Regions from separate parts of the Homo sapiens genome. Here all the other regions are linked to region 1. The links are contacts of gene promoters, found by promoter capture Hi-C in blood cells and fetal thymus (Javierre and others, 2016). All regions are on one chromosome and are shown on one strand. The core of a region is centred on a gene start or on the middle of the fragment in contact, and the rest is flanking DNA. Distances in the headings are between cores, read along the strand shown.

Region 1 (2,654 bases), core at 81-2,580:
CCACACTGTTTTCCACAATGGTTGAACTAATTTACACTCCCACCTAGTATATAATCCTTCCTTTTGGAAACAAATTTTATCAGTATATTCAATTCTGAACACCCATGTTTTAGAAAATGTTAAGCCTATTGTCCTTTAATCACTATTTGCTTACACATTAAAATGTAAAACAGGCAAAAGAGAAAGAAGGAAGAAAGGAGGGAGGGAGGGAAGGAGAAAAGTGAGAAAGAAAGAAAGATAAAAGAAAAAAGAAAGAAGAAAGAAAGAAAGAGAAGAAATAAAGAGAAAAAAGAAAGGAAGAAAGGAAGGAAGGAATGAAGAAGAAAAGAAAAAAGAGAAAGAAAGAAGGAAAGAAAAAGAAAAAAAGAAAGAGAAAGAAAGAAAGAAAGAGAAAGAAAGAAAGAGAGAGAGAGAGAGAAAGAGAGAGAAAAGAAAATTTTCTCCAGATTAGAATTATTGGCTGCTATTGTTTGGATGCTGGGTACTAGCTGTGATTACCCTTTGTGAATGTAGGAATGCACAGATTCCAAAAGTGAGTCTCATAGAAAAAGTCAGCATTCAAATATGTTTTAAGGTTACTCTATCCAAACCCCAAAGAACCCACAGAAGATGAAGCAGTAATTTTAGCTTCTCTTGGTGTATTGTACATGCATTTAAGGCCAGTTCCTTCCTTCAAATTCCCATGTGTTTTGTAGTTACCAACACACCTTTCAACCCTATCTGTTTATATACATCATATAGTCCTCTGTCAATTGCATAAAAGTTGTCCCCTTTGTGACTGTAATCGCCTTTTCCAATACACATCTACTCAGAATGCAGGTCCTTAAACAGCAGGCTGCCTTGAAAACCCTCTCCAATCTTCTTCGATCATCAGCTTTGAGATGCATATTCCTAGAGCCCATATCATCTTCTTCATCACTATCATAAACGTCTCCACATATTGATGAACGTTTGGAGAATCGATTTATGACAAGGGAGTTTACTCTTCCTGCATCCGCGGCTTCTTCGTGATTTTGTCCTAGTCACCGGGCCTATCCCACCTGCTGGGGATGCCGCCCCCTCGGAAGTGCCTGAAATCTCCCCACTTACCCAACTAGCCTCAGCGCCTCCTGTGTGCTGCAGCAGATGGCGCGCTGCAGACCCCAGCCTGGTGCCTCCGCGACTCCTCCCCAACCATGATTTACAGGCGGGGACAGCCACATTCCTGCGCCCCAACTTCCACCTCCGCTTCCTGCGCGCGCGAGACTCAAGCTGCCACAGTGGCTCTGCCGCCAGCGTCCCAGCTCCTCCCACACCCGAGTTTTTATTTCCTGCTCCCTCTCCAGCCCGGCCCAGGCCAGCCTACCGGCGACTAGGATGCTTTCGCTTTCGCTCTCGCTTTCCAATACTCGGGACTGGGGAAACCGGGAGAATAGAAGCAGGCAAGGACCGCCGTGGGCACGGGGTCAGTGAGACAGGGTCCTGCTCGCGGCGTCAAGGAGGAGCGCTGTGGGTGGGTAGGGTAGGCGCGCCCCCTCGGCCTTGCCTTTCCAACCACTCTTTTTTGCACGCCAACAGGTGTCCCCAGCGCAGCCAATCGGCTTCCGAAGTAGGTGAGTTGCTGCCTGAAGAGAAAAGACAAACTCCAGTATCTTTCATTCCATTGGCCAGACGCGCCATTCCCCAAGTGAGTTCTGTTCTCCAACCAAAGTGCTGGATTCCAAGGGACTGGAAGGGAAAGTCCCTAAAAATCACGAGTTCAGGCGTCTGAGACTTGGTGGGAACGGACCTTCCTCTTAGGTGAGTTACTCTTTGGTTCTGGGGCTGACCTGGAGTTTTGCCAGGATTCATTGGCCGCAGCAGGATGCTGGTGGGGACAGGGTAAATAAAATCTGCACTCCTGCGGGCTTTTATTGTTGAAAGGGGCACTGACGCTCTCCCTGGAAACTTAAAAAGAACAGCCAAGTGAACGGATGTGTCTTTCTTTTGCAGTGCCCAAGCCTGTTCTAATTTTTAAAAACTGATGTCTATTAAGACCCAATGTTAACTTTATGAAAATGGTTCCTAAGGAGATTCACATCTCTGTGTCCGAATTCTGTGTGCAGCAAACATCATCTCAAGTGCGTTTTCCCAACTACGCTTCTTTCCAGGATAAAATACTCTAAGTGACAAATGTTGAGTACATTATCAGGTATGTTCACTATTGTGAGAACTGAAGCCATCTACACTCACATAGCTTGCCAACTACATTAACCTGACTTCTTATTCCATTATTTTCATCAACATACATTTACTATTTCAAGAAACTTTTGCCAGGGACCGGAAAGTTGCAAATATCTTTATTGCTTAATCCAGTATCTTCTTCAAAGATCCAACCACTCTTCAATGGAAAACATCAAAGAACAGTTTACATTCTAAGACTTTGAACCTTTACCTCAAAATCCTAGCCTTGTTTTATCTACCAATCCTAAACTTTTACCCGTAGCTGACTCAATTCTAACCAATTCCCCTCATTAAATATTAGACTTACAATGGGACTTCAAAATCTCAATACATATAGCCCAAACTTGCTCTTCCCTCTCTGAGACACCACTTAAATTCTGTCAAGTTATTGTTCTCCATTACCTAAGTGAGCAAGAAACTTAGCTTTGTCTTATCAACAGGTTGCTTTGATA
Region 2 (2,654 bases), core at 59-2,558, 670 kb after region 1:
GGTTCTGAGAGGTCAGTGGGGGTGATTATGTAGGCTGCAGGAAGAGGACTTTGGAATATCACTCTGGCTGCCTGGTGGAAAACAAATCCTAGTGCACACCCATTTGTGTGGCTGCTGACATCAAGTCTTCATGGAAGCTACTCAACAAGTAAGGAAACAGCTGTCTTCCACATCCTATATTGTGGATGGTTTTATTTTTACCAGGGCTTGAAAAGATCTCATGATCTGATTATGGGGCACATTAGCTAGCCCCTTCCTTCTGCTTTTACGTTATTTTCACTCTACATTAAAAAAAAAAAAGATATATAACCCAAATGTTTACTGGGTACCCAGTAGCCTCTGTACATACCAGTTTAAAGAGCAACTGGTGGCAGTTCTAATAAAAACTGTGGAGGAAGAGACTAAATTATCTCAAGGAGTATGAGATTTTGTTATTCCCTAGCTTCCATCCCATTGCTGCTCGATGCTGAATTCACTCACCAAGATTGCAAAATTGCCTTCTGTAAACTCCGTAGCTTCAGTGGAAGGTCCCCGTATGTCACTTAAATTTTTAGGTTCTCTTCTTACTTTTGGCACAAGTGGTGCCCTTTCAATAAATCTAAGCTTGGGTTTTTCAGGAATGGAAACATCTAAAAGAAGCACAGACAACCAGGATAAAGTAAAACTATACATCTCAAAAGATCTATTTTCCTAGAAAGATTTATAACAGGTGAAAGTCTTAATTTCTTTCTTCTTCATTTTTTGGTAGAGACAGGGTCTCACTATGTTGCCCAGGTTGGTTTCAAACTCCTGGCCTCAAGTGATTTTCCTGCCTTTACCTCCCAAAGTGTTGGGATTACAAGTGCGAGCCACCATATCCAGCCTGAAAGTCTTAAAGTTACCACTGAACAGTAACTGTAAAGGTATATTACATTTTTGCAGATGCTTTTAGTGACACTGGAATCTTCTGGCTGTGACAGTGGCTAATGCAAATGTTTCTAAAACTTTAAAGATAGCAAAGTTTTATCCTCTGAATCCAAATGCACTTATTAATCACCAACTCTGTGCTTAACACTGTAACAGGGATTGTTTGGAAACCACTAGTTCACTTAATCTTTAAAATAACTTTATAGCCTTGGTATTCTTTCAGGGCTCTCTTTTTAAAAATTTTAAACTTGTCAAAGTTTAACACAGCTATATCAAAGGGCCAAATTAAAAATATACAGCTCAGTGAATTACCAGAAAGTGAACACATGAACACACACCACTATTACCCAGATCAACAAACAGGATATTAGGCAGGTAGTATTTTTAATCTCCATTTTATAGAAGAGGAACCCGAGGGCTAAAAACACTTTATAATCTGGTCTATGCCATCCAGTTCAACAGCAAAGCTACATACCATGTCACAAAAATATATACATATATTTCCCTGCCTCTCTGGATGTTAATGGGGGTAGTGGAAGAATACTATATTGTACATAAAAATATCTAAGTTCTCCAGCTCTGCCACATTCTTGTTGAGAAACTTACAACCTAGGAATCCTTTGATCAATGCTCTTTCTCTCATATATGCAGGGACTTTTCATGCTGAGACCTGCACAGGTCAGTGTGCCAGGTTTTGGTGGGTGGGCAAAACTTCAGGCCAGACATGTGACATCTTCTTTATCATCCTTACTTGACGATTTGGGGAAAAAAGTTAACATACAAATCATTTTTAAAAATTTCTTAAATGAACCAAGTATGGCTTTATAATGGAGACAAATACAAAATAGAAGAGTTTGAGGAAATACCAAATTATTACTATCAGAGTTTCAGAAGCTGCCCCTCAACTTCTATATGTAGCTACAGAGAATCTTAGTAATGCTTTCTTTCACCTACAAGTCAAAATGTACTTTCAAAACGTGGTTTAACAATTCTGTACAGAAGACCCTCAGATGTACAGACCCTATTCATTTTTTTTGAGGGTTCCAGTATATTTCTTTTTTAAAAAGTAAACTAGTTTTACGATATTGTGGCTTAAATTTAACAAATTAAAGCTTTTTCACATATCGTTAGATGACTGCATATATGTAAACTTATTTGGAAAGAACATCAAAAGTTCAGGTTTTTTTTTTCTTTTGAGACAGAGTCTCACTCTGTTGCCCAGGCTGGAGTGCAGTGGCCTCCTGAGTAGCTGGGATTACAGGTGTAAACTACCACGCCCAGCTAATTTTTTGTATTTTTAGTAGAGATGGGGTTTCACCAGGTTGGCAGGCTGGTCTCCAACTCCTGGCCTCAAGTGATCCACCCGCCTCCGCCTCCTAAAGTGCTGTGATTACAGGCGTGAGCCACCATGCCCGCTCAAAAATCCAGATTTCAGGCCAATGACTACTGGCTGAGTGGACCATGGGACACACACCAGTGGGAGGTTTTAGGGGAGCTATCTCATTAGACGCTGCTCCGTAAGAGCAAGGAACTTTTTTGGTTTCCTTTGTCTTTGATTTATTTCTAGTGCTCAGAATATTAGTTGGCAAAACTGTAAGCTCTAAAAACATATTTATTGAAAGAGTGAACGGGGATGGGAAACACGAGAACATTCCTATGTCATCTCCCACCCGCTCCTGGTTTCCATCAGAGAAAAGATTTACGAACAGGAGAAAGACAAGCTCTCACCTTCAAAACTTGGTACTGGG
Region 3 (2,654 bases), core at 95-2,594, 620 kb before region 1:
GTGGTAAACTCAACTTTTAAATTTTGGTTTGCCTGAAGCCATGGCTGCTATTCTTGCCACTATAACCAAAACAGTGTAGCCTAGAGCAGATCACTTTGATGCCCTAGTGCCCTTGCTTGTCCCTTGAAAATTCACCTCATGGGCACTTTACATTGTTGATATACAGCCTAAAAGAAAGCATCCCAGACAAGGAATTAACAAACTTTAGTTCTGTTTCTAAATCAAGTCACCTTGACCTATTCATGTAATCAACTGCTTCTTCCACAGGTAAATGGAAATAATAATCCTTGCCCACTTTCTCCCTTCTGTCATCCCCTCTACTAATACTACCTTAGATGAAATACATTAAGCTTCATAGAGCTGGGAATATTATAAAACTTTGCAAATGCATGGCTTACCACAAATTCGGTCTTGTGATTACCGGTAATGTGAAGTCCTTTGGTATGATTTTCTTCCTTTTAACCTTACCCCTCGATAACTTTACCCAACAAATGGCATTAGTTCCCCACCCCTATCTGTTGGCACTTACTGCTAGGTACACACTGCTGCTCCTACTCAAAGTGCCTGTGATTTAGAAAAAGGGCTTTCTTTGGCCTCAGAGTACATGCAGCTTGAGTACAAGGAAGACAAAGTGGGGTGTAAGGGTTGGTGGACCACCTCTTGTACTCTACAATGAATCCCAGAGGTCCTCTGAGTATTGAGTTCCAACTTCCCAAGACAGTAATCTGCTCATTAATGCACACTGATTTGGCTTCCTTGCCTTTTCTTTTTTGTTTGTTTGTTTTTTTGGGTTTTTTTTTTTTTTAGACGGAGTCTCACTCTGATGCCCAGGCTGGAGTGCAGTGGCGCTATCTTGGCTCACTGCAACCTCCTCCTCCCGGGTTCAAGCGATTCCTCTGCCTCAGCCTCCTGAGTAGCTGGGACTACAGGCTGCACACCACCACACCCGGCTAATTTTTTGTATTTTAGTAGAGACGGGGTTTCACTGTGTTGGTCAAGATGGTCTCGATCTCCTGACCTCGTGATCTGCCCACCTCGGCCTCCCTAAGTGCTGGGATTACAGGCGTAATCCCTGTAGAATATAGAAAATATCTCACTTTTGGCTCTTCTAGCTGTACATCTAGAGATTGCCTCCTAAATAGACTACTATACACAAGTCCTAGTCTCAGCATCCACTTCTAGAAAAACCCCAAATTGTGAGACAATCTAGGGTAAGTAGTAGCTTCACCAGGTAGTTTGTGTAAGGGAACTGAGTGACAATTCCCCCCACTCTGTCTTTCTTTTCCTCAGATAGTGTGTTATACGGCCCATCTTGCCTCCTTTACTGAAAGCTCTGAAAATTTCACCTTGCCCAACTCAAAAATTATCTTATATATCCTGTAACTTTCTTCCGTCCTACTTTTCCTCCATTTCAAAATTTTCAGATTATCTTAGGAAAATCTCCAAGTTCTTCATTTTATTTTTGAGCCTCCAATATTTTCTAACTCATGTCTGAAAATGCAAGAGCACCTAGAGACAGAAAGTCCTATTTTCTAAGTGTTATTGAACATAATGAAAATAACCACTTCAAACTTCCAAAGCATTGAAAAGTGTCCCTAAGGTCCCCTCTCAGAATCACTATAAATGTCTTCTTTTTCCTCCTTAACTTCATATAAACCCAATTTTCTTTAAGTAGCACCTTTCAGGATGTAATGGACTGAATGTGTCGTTCCAAAATATGTTGAAGGCCTAACCCCCAATGTGGCTGTATTTTAAGTAAAGAAGTAATTAAGATTAAACGAAATCATAAGGGTTGGGCCCTGATCTGATAAGATTGGTTTCCTTACAAGAAGAGACACCAGATCTCTTGTGGTCTCTCTCTCTCTCCCTCTTTTCACCCTGTGAGGACAAAGCAAGAAGGCAGCTATATGCAAGCCAAGAAAAGAGCCCTCAACAGAATTCAAACCTGCAGACCTTAATCTGAGACTTCTCATCTCCAGATCTATGAGAAAATAAATTTCTGTGGCTTAAGACACCCCATTTATGGTATTTTGTTTTGGCAACTGCGCAGACTAAGACACAGGATAAATGTAAATTGATTTCTCTTATAATCGTCTAATTTTTCTTCCTTTTTTGTTTGCTAGTGGGGTATCAGGATGTTTTAAAACTAGTTTTCACTATAAAGAGTATTGCAGTAATATCAAATACGTAATAGTTCTCTCTGGATTATAATTAAACAAAGTAGCATGAATACCATCATTTCCAAAACAATTTTAAATCTTAGAGGATGACAACACCCTCACAACCTTTTTCTTCCCCTTTGTAATAGTGACAGATACTGCAAAATTGGACAGGAGCAAGAAGCTTGTACTCTAAATATGCGAGCTATCCACAGGATGACTTAACCTTAAACTACAGAGTTTCACTGTGCTCTGGTGTAAAAAGCATCAAGAAGTGATCAAACACTATTTTTGTGTATTAGTTTTTCATGACGATATACAATATACGTTCTGTACCAACACTGAGTTTATTTGTTCAATGTAAACAAAAAAGAGAATTTATTTGCTCACATAATTTCCTAGTCTATGGTTAAGATGCTGCTATGGTAGAACTGAGTGGCTCAAAAAAAGAAAACACAGCCTCTCCATTACTTGGTTCTACGTTCCACTGTGCTG
Region 4 (2,654 bases), core at 60-2,559, 610 kb after region 1:
TGTGTTAGGGGAAGGAGGTGGGACAGTGTGTATTTCTGATCTACTCGCCTTTCCTAGTATGACCACCAGGGGGCGCGGAAGCCCTCCTGGTACTAAGGCGGGGACAACCTGCCCAGCGAGCACAGCGGGCAGAAGGAAGTGTGCCGGACGCGAGAGAGAACTACGGCCGAGACCCGCGGGGCCGGCTCAAAGCCCGACCTCTGCCATACGCACCGTATCTTTATGGGAGCCGATGAGGTCAGCAGGGAGCACGCGTTCAGATGGCAGAAGAGGGCAAAGTACTGCTAGAATTACAAAGATATTTACAGCTTTTTAACCTGAAAGCACAGAGCAGATCCTATTCTTCAGAATTAAATCTTCGGCTCGCCAGTCCCGTTTATGGATCTCCACTCTGATGAATGTGCCATTTGTTCCCAAGAAGACAAATAGGGTAGGGAGAAGAGGGAGAGGCGGGGAGAAGACTCGAGATAAAGGGACGATCTGCTTTTCGGAAGCAGAAGCCGCCTGGGAACCACCTGCACACCAAGCAGGCTGCGAGGACGGGGAGCGCTCCAGTGCAAAGTTCTGTATTTTAAAGCCCCTCCTCGCTCACAGGCTTCACAGCGAACTACGAAGTGGGTACCATCTCTGATTTACAGACACGGGAACGGGGTCCTCTTGAGAAACGATGCTTTCCCAAACGTCTGCAAATTGTGAGTGCCAAGTGTCTCCACTGGCACTAACAACATCGAGCTGCTTACGTTTCTCGGAGCGGTCCCGATTTCCAACAAGCAAAAGATCCAAATTCTCTGACCACCCTGACCGTCCTGTATCTCCAGATCTCCAGGTCTTTCCTCTGGACACCTCCTCCATCCCCCCACTTTCACTGCCAGCAGCCCTGAGGCTGCGCGGGATCCCGCTACTCGGAATGCCTTCCTCCTGGCGGGATATTTTTAGAACACTCGACTGCCACCCAATGTAGCCCACATCACATTGTCTTATTTGTTTTCGGGAGCTTGTCCCCGCCTAGCAAGGAGTCGGCTAAGAACTGGATCCTAGCGAGGAGCCCGGCACAGACAGCGAATGACCGCAGCCAGACAGTCGCTCTTGCTCTTCCTCGGCCCTGCGGCAGGATCCGCCGGTGCAGGGGCCTCTCCCCGGACTCCACGCGTGTCTGGAGGGCTCTCGGGTTAGGGAAGGGGGCTTTGGAGACGCCCCGGGCGGCCGGGCGGTGGCGGGACGCGGGCCCTTTAAGAAGGAGCGAGGGGCGCGGCCAGGTAGGGGCGGGTCCAGGGCGGATCAGCGCTGCGCCGGCGCCGGCCCGGGAGCCGGATTTGGAGCGCGAGGCGCCGGTGGGGGCGGAGGGGGCTGCGCGGCGGAGGCTCCCGTGGCCTCGGACGCTCCTCCTAGCTAGCGGCCGCCGCCCGCCGCCGCCTGCGCCTCCAGCTCCTTCGCCCCGGCGGGCCCGGCCGCCGCTTCCGGCAGCTCACCTGGGAAGCGCTCACCTGGGACGCGCTCACCTGGGACGCGCTACCTGCCTCCGGGCGCCTGGGCTTCAGGATGAAGGACCGTCTGGAGCAGCTGAAGGCCGTGAGTTTCGCCGCAGGCGGGGTGCTGCCAGGAGGGGTGCTGCATGGGAGAGGGGCTTCCCTTTGCTCCCCAAGTCGAGGCTGGAGGGGGGCCCGAGCCGGAGGCTTGCCCTCCCCAAGCCCCCACCGCTTCCCGCGCCGGTTCCGCACCCTCCCCTCCCCTCCCCTGCGGGGTCATGTGCCCGGTGATTCATCGCTAGGCAATGATTTTCCTGAACGCCTCTAACTCTCCCACCCCGCAAGCTGGACAGTGTCTGTCCAGAGCTGGTTCCCGAAGCGGGTGCTTGGGCCCGGGAGGTCAGGGGTCCCTTCACCACCTGCCCACTGCTGCCTGGCACTATGCCCAGGACCAGCCTCCTTCTCCCTTTCCTGTTTCTCTCCTGAGGTGCTACAGGCCTGGCTGCCCCTTCCCCCAGGGAGCAGCTCAGAGCTCTCTGGTGACCTCTGGAGCTGTGAGCCGGTCACATGCTGGGATGGGTCAGCTCCTCTCCAACCGGTGGTCTGTAATTGTTATCCCCGGGTGTCATTGTCCCCCCCTCCCCCGCCGTATCTTTTGGAACAGCTGTGGTTAGGTCAAAGGATCTGAAGGTAGACTACCTCCAGCCTTGGCTGCGCAAAAGCTGTAAAGCCTTAGGTTACTTACTGTGAGTCTCTGTTTCCTTATCTATCAAATGGGAATGATCATACCCTAGGAATTTGTTGGGAGGATCAGCTGATACAATGGAACTTGATACAGAAAAGGGTTAACGCATAGGGTTTTAAGCCAGATATTCATTGACTCATTCAGTACATAATTATTGAGTGTATTCTATGGGGAGGTCCAGTGCTAAGCCTTGGAGATTCAGTGGCACAGGTTCTACCTTAATAGAATTAAAATCTAGCCCTTGACACTCAAGAGTTTAGTCCATCTACTTTGGAGCTTGTTACAAGTGTAGCAGCTTAGGCCTGAGTCTAGCCCCGCAGAATCAGAATCTAATTATTCATCCATTTCCCCAGGTGATTCATGGGCACATTACAGTTTGGGAAGCACTGGACTGGATTAGAACTGGGGTTGTCTCCTGGCTCCACTGCTTACTGGTGATCCCT
Region 5 (2,654 bases), core at 111-2,610, 530 kb after region 1:
TAAACCATTCCCCCACCTCAGCCTCCCCAGTAGCCAAGCCTTCAGGCACGTGCCACCACATGTGGCTATATATATATATGTACATTTCAACCACAAAGTTTTAGAGTAGTTTATTGCTCACTAATAGATAGTGGGAATGTGTCCGTTTAGAAAAATTATACAAAACTTGGAAATAAGGAAAAAGGATTGTTGTGTGCCTTGCAATGTTGTAATAAGAACATTATCTAACAAGCCTGCCTAAAGGTCATTTAAAGTTCTACAGAGAGGTAACCTTGTTTGACTTAGTGTTTATTATTAATTAATGAGATCCCAGACTCAGTAAAGTTAGATATTAGTTTATAGAAGATTAACAAGTTGCAAATTATTTTTGTCCAGTGGAGATAATTTCATTTTGGTGGGAAAGATCATCTCAAAGGAGACAGTTTTATTGCCACACAGGACATTAACCAATAATATATTTAACTTTTGAGTCTTAATTCAGCCATTTCCCCCACTATATAGTTCATAGTTTCTTGTGTCCTCCTTTGAATCAGCTTCACCACCTTGCTGTTTCTTTTCATTAATAAGATAAATAAATATTTTGACACATGCTCATAATGTAATTGAAAGAGAATAATTTTTATTTAGCTTTTTGAAAGTTATACTTTGGCAAACTATTAAACTTTTTTTTTTGCAGGGGATTCAACTCAATACGTATTTATCGAGAATCTATTATGTAAAATGGTGAGAAGTGATATCTATATTATAGCCTACTGTGCAATAGCATTATGTCTTTAAAAACGCAATGTACATACCTTAATTAAAAAATGCTTTATTGCTAAAAATGCTAATGATCATCTAAGCCTTTAGCGAATTTTAATCTTTTTCCTGATGGAGGGTCTTGCCTCGATGTTGATAGCTGCTTACTGATAAAGGCAGTGGTTGCTGAAGGTTGGGGTGGCTATGGTAATTTCTTAAAATAAGACAAGGAAGTAAGCCACCTCGATTGACTTTTCCTTTCATGACGGAAAAGTTTCTCTGTAGCATGCAGCGCTGTTTGGCATTTTACCCATGAATTAGAACTTTCAAAATTGGAGGCAATTCTCTCAAACACTGCTTTATCAACTAAGCTTGTGTAATACTCTAAATCCTTTATTATCATTTCAGCAATGTTCACAGCATCTTCACCGGGAGAAGATTCTATCTTAAGGAAACTCTTTTCTCATGCATAAGAAGCACCTCCTTACCTGTTAAAAGTTTAATCATGAGATTGCAGGAATTCAGTCACATCTTCAGGCTCCACTTCTAATTCTAGTTCTCTTGGTATTCCACCGCACCTGCAGTGACTTCCTCCACCGAAGTCTTGAACCTCTCAAAGTCATCCATGAGGGTTGGAATCAACTTCTTCCAAAGTCCTGTTAATGTTTGTAGTGTTATGAAATATATATACATATAGGTTTTCATACACAGGAAACAGAATCTCTTTGACCTTCTCTTGCCTTCCTTTTACCTGCCTTCCTTTCACCTACCCCAAAGCAGGACTCTAATCTTCTGCTTTTATAATTGTGGATCATAAGACTCATTTCAGAGAGGGTCCCAACCCATGGCCTGGGGGAAGGAATGCTGATATAATGAAGCTTCCATAAAAATCCAAGAGGACAGCTTCCTGATAGCTGAACAAGTGGAGGTTTCTGGGGAATGGCTACCTGGGGAGGGCATGGGAGCTCCGTGTCCCTTCCTCCATACCTCTCCCTGTGCATCTCTTCATCTGGATCCTTCGTGATATCCTTTATAATAAACTGGTAAATATAAGTGTTTCCTTAGTTCTGTGAGCCACTCCAGCAAATTATTGAACCCAAAGAGGGGGTCATGGGAACCTCAACTTGAAGCTGATTGATCAGAAGTTCCAGAGACCTGGACTTGCAACTGGTGTCTGGGGGGAGGAGGGAGTAATCTTGGGGACTGAGCCCTTTACCTGTGGGAACTGACATATCTCCAGGTAGTGTCAGAATCGAATTGGAGGATACCCAGCTGGTCTCCACTGCTTGTTGGTGGGGAAAATCCCCCATATATTTGGTCACAGAAGTCTTCTGTGTTGATTGTTGTGGTGTGAGAGCAGAGGACAAATGCAGTTTAAGTTTTTCCATGACAATGTTGATACTTTGACCCCTTCCTATGACTCACAAATGTTCTTTTTGCGGGCAGGGGGCAAACAAGTGCAGTGGCACGATCTCGACTCACTGCAACCTCCACCTCCTGGGCTCAAGCCATTCTCCCATCTCAGCCTCCCAAGTAGCTGGGGCTATAGGCGGGCACCATCATGCCCGGCTAATTTTTGTATTTTTTGTAGGGACAGGGCTTCGCCACGCTGCCTGTACCTGGCTTCACAAATGTTCTTAATGGCATTTAGGATGGTAAATCCTTTCCAGGTTTTTTTGTTTTGTTTTGTTTTCCTTTATCTAGTCATCCAGAAGTATCCAGAAGGTTTTCAATTTCTTTTGCCCAGATCCATCAAAGGAATCATTATCTATGACAGCTATAGCCTTACAAAATGTATTTCTGAAATAATAAGACTTGAAAGTTGAAATTGCTGTGTGGGCTGCAGAATGGATGTTGTGTTAGCAGGCCTGAAAACGATTAATCTTGTACATCTCCATCAGAGTTCTTGGGTGACC

Evidence for each region. The method cuts DNA at HindIII sites, captures the fragments that hold promoters and counts their contacts. A CHiCAGO score of 5 or more calls a contact.
Region 2: a contact is called between a fragment that was not itself captured here and the fragment with the promoter of FAM111A in region 1, in 1 of 17 cell types (non-activated CD4 T cells). The highest score is 5.7, in non-activated CD4 T cells.
Region 3: a fragment that was not itself captured here is called in contact with the fragment with the promoter of FAM111A in region 1 in 3 of 17 cell types (naive CD8 T cells, total CD4 T cells and activated CD4 T cells); the score reaches 8.2 in naive CD8 T cells.
Region 4: the fragment with the promoter of STX3 here is called in contact with the fragment with the promoter of FAM111A in region 1 in 5 of 17 cell types (activated CD4 T cells, non-activated CD4 T cells, naive CD4 T cells and 2 more); the score reaches 7.0 in activated CD4 T cells.
Region 5: a fragment that was not itself captured here is called in contact with the fragment with the promoter of FAM111A in region 1 in 1 of 17 cell types (total CD4 T cells); the score reaches 6.5 in total CD4 T cells.

The regions. Positions count from the first base shown.
Region 1 is chr11:59,141,526-59,144,179 of GRCh38, forward strand. FAM111A (FAM111 trypsin like peptidase A) reads left to right here and starts at 1,331. Exons shown (of 6, transcript NM_001312909.2): 1 at 1,331-1,421; 2 at 1,558-1,779; 3 at 1,972-2,170. FAM111A-DT (FAM111A divergent transcript) reads right to left here and starts at 1,283. Exons shown (of 4, transcript NR_110184.1): 1 at 1,090-1,283. It also overlaps the pseudogene LOC100422399. RefSeq lists an enhancer at 1,099-1,548. The HindIII fragment of the contact is 3,476 bases long and covers 1-2,654 here.
Region 2 is chr11:59,807,221-59,809,874 of GRCh38, forward strand. It overlaps MRPL16 (mitochondrial ribosomal protein L16), which reads right to left. Exons shown (of 4, transcript NM_017840.4): 2 at 2,635-2,654; 3 at 481-629. Among named protein-coding and RNA genes, the nearest start is that of MRPL16, 2.2 kb to the right of the region's middle. The HindIII fragment of the contact is 1,415 bases long and covers 602-2,016 here.
Region 3 is chr11:58,520,461-58,523,114 of GRCh38, forward strand. No RefSeq gene overlaps it. Among named protein-coding and RNA genes, the nearest start is that of OR5B21, 14 kb to the left of the region's middle. The HindIII fragment of the contact is 1,993 bases long and covers 349-2,341 here.
Region 4 is chr11:59,754,067-59,756,720 of GRCh38, forward strand. STX3 (syntaxin 3) reads left to right here and starts at 1,310. Exons shown (of 11, transcript NM_004177.5): 1 at 1,310-1,569. The coding sequence starts at 1,540. RefSeq lists enhancers at 1-240, 1-224, 1-284, 221-380 and a silencer at 1,251-1,510. The HindIII fragment of the contact is 11,536 bases long and covers 1-2,654 here.
Region 5 is chr11:59,674,251-59,676,904 of GRCh38, forward strand. PATL1-DT (PATL1 divergent transcript) reads left to right here. Exons shown (of 4, transcript NR_187296.1): 3 at 677-723; 4 at 1,147-1,791. Among named protein-coding and RNA genes, the nearest start is that of PATL1-DT, 6.3 kb to the left of the region's middle. The HindIII fragment of the contact is 507 bases long and covers 1,108-1,614 here.